Linked DNA regions of Homo sapiens: region 2 is linked to region 1. Evidence: promoter capture Hi-C in human tissues and cell types (Jung and others, 2019). All regions are on one chromosome and are shown on one strand. The core of a region is centred on a gene start or on the middle of the fragment in contact, and the rest is flanking DNA. Distances in the headings are between cores, read along the strand shown.

Evidence for each region. The method cuts DNA at HindIII sites, captures the fragments that hold promoters and counts their contacts. A contact is called where the count stands out against the background at its distance.
Region 2: a fragment that was not itself captured here is called in contact with the fragment with the promoter of TAL2 in region 1 in 1 of the 25 tissues and cell types used here (thymus).

Annotation. Positions count from the first base shown.
Region 1 is chr9:105,660,974-105,664,001 of GRCh38, reverse strand. It overlaps TAL2 (TAL bHLH transcription factor 2), which reads right to left and starts at 1,545. Exons shown (of 1, transcript NM_005421.3): 1 at 878-1,545. The coding sequence starts at 1,505. The coding sequence ends at 1,179. RefSeq lists an enhancer at 1,429-1,518. The HindIII fragment of the contact is 2,755 bases long and covers 1-2,057 here.
Region 2 is chr9:105,703,742-105,706,769 of GRCh38, reverse strand. It overlaps TMEM38B (transmembrane protein 38B), which reads right to left. Exons shown (of 6, transcript NM_018112.3): 2 at 1,017-1,173. LOC107987107 (a long non-coding RNA gene) reads left to right here. Exons shown (of 4, transcript XR_001746868.2): 4 at 300-471. Among named protein-coding and RNA genes, the nearest start is that of TMEM38B, 11 kb to the right of the region's middle. The HindIII fragment of the contact is 6,802 bases long and covers 1-3,028 here.

The DNA of each region.
Region 1 (3,028 bases), core at 296-2,795:
TCGTAAGAAAACTACGAGCCCTAACACATAAATTATCCAGTTGTTTCGTCTCACAGATATAATCCACTATTTGCCTTTAGAAGTCACATATGTACAAATGGCTCAGCACAAGTAGCACCTCACACTTCTACAGAGTTGAAAGGACACAGAACTGTTCCACATATCTCTGCTGCATTCCTGTAATCCCCACACCTTAGTGGGCGGGGGGCGGGGGGTGTCTTTTCTCCACAGATTTTTCCCGCAAGTCTCCCAGGTTGGTTTCTGCAGGGGTTATCTTTCTATTCATCAATCTTAAGATTTATTTTGTTCACCTTTGATCAAATGCATCTCATTTTTCAAAACCATCTTTAAAATCTGTTCTGAGGGAAGCATATGCTGCTACTCATTCATCTGAGATCCATTATGAGAAAACTTTTTTTGTTATTGTTGTTTTTGAGAGCGAGTCTTGCTCCGTTGCCCAGGCTGGAGTGCAGTGGCATGATCTTGGGTCACTGCAACCTCCCCCTCCCGGGTTCAAGCGATTCTCGTGCCTCAGCCTCCTGAGTATCTGGGATTACAGGTGCGCACTACCACACCTGGCTCATTTTTGTATTTGTAGTAGAGACGGAGTTTCACCATGTTGGCCAGGCTGGTCTCAAACTCCTGACCTCAGGTGATCTGCCCATCTCAGCCTCCCAAAGTGCTGGGATTACAGGCGTGAGCCACCGTGCCCGGCCCATCAATCTTAAGATTTATTTTGTTCACCCTTGATCAAATCTCATTTTTCAAAACAAACTTTAAAATATGTTCTGAAGGAAGCATATTCTACTTATTCATCTGAGATCCATTATGAGAAAACTTCTTTCTTATAACTGAAGACATTGAGTATAAACAGTGATTTTCAGCCTTTTTTTTTTTTTATTTAGAATTTTTTCTCCAAAAGTCTTATGCAGAACCTGGATTTAAAATAGGCAGAGGTAGGCCGCTCTACCTGACATCCCTGGGGGGTGGCGGCCCACAAGTGACATTCCTCATGGCTTCTTTCAGCTCCCTGCAGCTGTCTCTGAGCCACCTCCCAGGAAGCTAGAATTCATGCTTCACGAGTTATCATCAGGTCAACTCTGGAACATGCAAAAGTCTGTCCACAGGCAGTGATTTCTGGGCAAGTGCTGCCCTGGGAGATGACAGCCAGAGCCACACTAAGGAATGTGGTGGCTTGGACCAGGTGAAGGAACCTGGTAGTTCTCAAGCAGAGTTCTGTCCTCCAGGCCTGGCAGGTGGGGTCCTTGAGGGAAGAGCCCCAGAATGTTCCCCTGAGCAGCCACTCCCGTTTGTTGCAGGCTTTGCTCCCCCAAGACCTTGACCAAGAAGTTGATATACCTCATTGCCAGGCGAAGCGTTTCATTTTTGCTCAGCTTTTTGTCTGGAGGGTGAGTGGGGATGAGCTTCCTCAGCTTGGCAAAGGCGCTGTTGACATTCTGCTGCCTCCACCGCTCCCTGGTATTTGTGAAGATCTTCCTGGTCATGTTTGAGTTCCTGAGATGGAAAGAGAAAGGGCCCTCAGGGCCAATATCTTATAAGAGGCCTGATTGGTATCACATGTCCTGCCAAGAACCTGAGATGTTAGATTTTCTCGACTCAGAGCTTACGAGATTCATTTCCTCATTTTCAGGTTTTTAAAAAAGAAAACAACCCCACAGGGACACAAACATATGCCTCTCACCTTTCGAGGCATCAGTGACGCTATGAATTATGCATAATTTCTTTTTTTAACTTAAAAACAACAGGGGAAGGTAAGAACAACACCCTTCAGCTTTTTCTCTCTGGCTGTTTTGAAGCCTCCAGTTGAAAGATTGCTTTGTCCCAATACTCCTGTTTCTTCCTTTATAACCAACTCTTCCTAATTGTTCAGAATCAGGTACAATATTGATTGAGTTTATGTATAAATGCAACATATGTTTGGCCAATAGAAAGTTTGTTTTTTGTTTTTTGTTTTTTTCTTTTTTTGAGATGGAGTCTCACTCTGTCACCCAGACTGGAGTGCCATGGCACCATCTCAGCTCACTGCAACCTCCAGCTCCCGGGTTTGAGCGATTCTCCTGCCTCAGTCTCCGGAGTAGCTGGGACTATAGGCGCCTGCCACCACGCCTGGCTAGTTTTTATATTTTTAGTAGAGATGGGGTTTCACCATGTTGGCCAGCCTGGTCTTAAACTCCTGATCTCAGGTGATCCACCCGCCTCGGCCTCCCAAAGTGCTGGGATTGCAAGCGTGAGTCACGATGCCCGGCCACCAACAGAGAGTTGAATATGAATCAACAATGTATTATCAGAATGAAGTAAAAAAAGAAAATGATTGTAGGTTTCGTTAATAAAATAAAATTTGGAATAGAGAAGACAATACAGCTCTCTTGTTAGCTGGCAGACCTCACCTGGAGGATTCAGCCCCTCTCTGTAAGAACTAAAATATCCAGACTGGACTATATTTAGAGGAGCAGGAACAGAATGATGAAGGGTCTTGAAACCCTGGTGTATGAAGAACAGAAGTGGGGGTATTTAGTCTCGCAAAAATGAAAAGACAAGGGGCAGGTGGGAGTGGTGATTTGGCGTGGATTCTGTAGAAGATACTTGGGCCTCTTTGGGGCTGCATTGGATGACCTTTCCAAGTCTAGGAGAGTGGTTTATCATCACATACTGCCGAGCATTATGCAGGCATTTTTCACTCTTAGAGGCAAGAGTCCCTTTTTTCAAGTGGCTTGGATTAACATGTGCTAATAGGAACACTTGGGAGGCACTGGCAAACAAGCCCAAGTCTAGCCCCAGGCAGTTTGATGTTCTTGGCTTACTGCTATTGGTCTGCTGCCTGCTCCACGCTCAGCTCCTCTGGGCACTGGGCCCTTTCTAGTTCCTCCGAAGACTCATGAATATTCCCAACTCTACACTTTCGCACATTGTCATTTTCTGTTCCTTGAATTTCCTCCCCACTCTCTACTTACCTATTTCTTTAAACAGCAGGTGAGATCTTCCCTTTCCAAGCCCTGACTCTACAGGA
Region 2 (3,028 bases), core at 149-2,648, 43 kb before region 1:
GTCCAAAAAGCCAAGGACAGAGGAATGGGCTCCAGACACCCCCGCCCCCTCCAGAGCAAGGTTAAGGAAAAAAAAAAGAGAGAGAAAGACAAATTCCTTTATTGTTACTCCTTTCCCTTGCCTCTTAAGCATAACGGTGTTTTACAAATGCCTGTATTTAGCCAATTCTTGTTTTTCTTTTGACACAGCTAAAAGGCCACCAGCTATGCAAGGCCACAAGTTATGCACTATATGATTAACTACCTTTGTTTTGCTCTTATGAGCCCACTTATAAAAACCTCGCTCTGTCTTTATTCAAGGCCCAGCTTTTTGGAGGTAAATCCACTGAGCCGGTGTGTACCTCACAATAAATATCCTCCTGTATTCACGCATACTGGTCTCTCTAATCCTCTGCGTCCCGCAACAAGCTGAGAGCGCGCCACTGCACTTGCAGTCTTGCACATAGCAAGACTATGTCTCAACAACAACAAAAAAGGTACATAAGACAATGGCAGACAATAATTGCTTCTGGGAGAAGATAAGGGAAAATAAAAAAGAAAGAGATATACTTTACACTTAAAGCCTTTGGCATGGCTGGGTGCGGTGGCTCACACCTGTAATCCCAGCACTTTGGGAGGCCGAGGCGGGCAGATCACCTCACGTCAGGAGTTCAAGACCAGCCTGGCCAACATGGTGAAACCCCGTCTCTACAAAAATACAAAAATTAGCCATGCGTGAGGGCGGGTGCTGTAATTCCAGCTACTCCAGAGGTTGAGGCAGAAGAATCACTTGAACCCAGGAGGTGGAGGTTGCAGTGAGCCAAGATTATGCCATTGCACTTCAGCCTGGGCAACAGAGTGAGACTCCGTCTCAAAAAAAAAAAAAAAACCCCTTAGCATTATTTGGGTTCCTTCCTTGCAGATGCATTAACTTTTCAAGCACGTAAAATATTGTTCAAAGAAAAAAAAATTCATTTTACTAACAATTTACAACACAATTGTTTAAATGTCACATAGGTCACCATACTGGCAGCTTACCAGATTGAAGATGCCAGTAATATGTTAGTGTGGTTTGCAAGAAACTTCAATGGAGGCTCTGCAAGCAGTAGACAGGATAAAATTCCTCCACCAAAACAGTGGAGCATAGCAGTAAACCAGCTTGAAATAGGATTCTTCCATGCCAATGCAGCTGCTCCTGAAATGGTAAAGTAAAATATGGTCTGTGATCATTATACATTTATTAAACAAGCCCCAAAGTACAAGTTGCACTAAACAAATAAACTTCTTAAATTCATAATTTTCAACAACTATTATTCATAGGTGTGCCAGTCAAAATCATTAAAAATCATACCTTTTATTCTTTAAAGCAAGACTGGAAACATTTTGTTAATGGGTGATTTTTGGCACTTTGGCACCTTTAAAATACTCTGTTCTGTTTAGGCTGTCATTGCCAGTTTCCTAGTAATGGATTATTATAAACGATATTCTCACTTATTGTCTCCTTCCATCCCAAACCCTACAGTAAGCACTCCCAGACAATATGTCAAAGTGATTTATTAAGAAAAATTTACAATCTTAAGTATATTGGAAAATAAAGAAGTTGAAATAAATAAACTAAGCTTTCAACAAGACAGGTGAGAAACAGAGTAACAAAATAAACCTAAAGGTGAAAGGTTTCTTAGGAATAGATATTTATACTACCTCAACACGAGTCTTAACTAATTACTTATTAATTGTAGAGGAAAATAATAACTTGAGAGTGGGGGAAACCTTTCAGACATCACTGTAAATAACATCAAGTGACTCCTGATATGATACACTGAGAACACATCATCACTTCTGTGGTATCTCTTTTTTTTTTTTACTTTGAGATAGAGTCTTGCTCTGTTCCCCAGGCTGGAGTGCAGTGATGCGATCTTGGCTCACCACAACCTCCACCTCCTGGGTTCAAGCAATTCTCCTGCCTCAGCCTCCCAAGTAGCTGTGACTACAGGCACCTGCCACCACGCCCAGCTAATTTTTGTATTTTTAGTAGAGACGGGGTTTCACTATGTTGGCCAGGCTGGTCTCAAACTCCTGATCTCGTGATCCACCCACCTCGGCCTCCCAAAGTGCTGGAATTACAGGCGTGAGCCACCGAGCCCGGCCACTTCTGTGGTTATTTCTAACAAAAATATACAACCTGAACTAATCGAATCAGACAAACCCAAACTGAGGGCTACTCTGAGAAAACAAAAACAAACAACAAACAACAACAACAACTGGCTTATATTTTTTAAATGTCAAAGTCAAAAAAACACCCAAAAAAAAGGCCAATAAAACATTCTAGATATGAACAATGTCTCTAACTCAAACTATATTTATTTATTTACTTAATTACTTATTTATTTATTTTGAGACAGGGTCTCGCTCTGTTGCCAAGGCTGGAGTGCAGTGGAGTGATCTCGGCTCACAGCAACCTCAGCATCCTGAGTTCAAGCACGTCTCATGCCTCAGCCTCCCAAGTAGCTGGGATTATAGGCACGCGCCACCACACCAGGCTAATTTTTGTATTTTTTTTTTATACTTTAAGTTTTAGGGTACATGTGCACATTGTGCAGGTTAGTTACATATGTATACATGTGCCATGCTGGCGCACTGAACCCACTAACTCGTCATCTAGCATTAGGTATATCGCCTGATGCTATCCCTCCCCCCTCCCCCTACCCCACAACAGTCCCCAGAGTGTGATATTCCCCTTTCTGTGTCCATGTGATCTCATTGTTCAATTCCCACCTATGAGTGAGAATATGCGGTGTTTGGTTTTTTGTTCTTGCGATAGTTTACTGAGAATGATGATTTCCAGTTTCATCAGAATCTACAATGAACTCAAACAAATTTACAAGAAAAAAACAAACAACCCCATCAAAAAGTGGGCGAAGGACATGAACAGACACTTCTCAAAAGAAGACATCTATGCAGCCAAAAAACACATGAAAAAATGCTCATCATCGCTGGCCATCAGAGAAATGCAAATCAAAACCACAATGAGATACCATCTCACACCACTT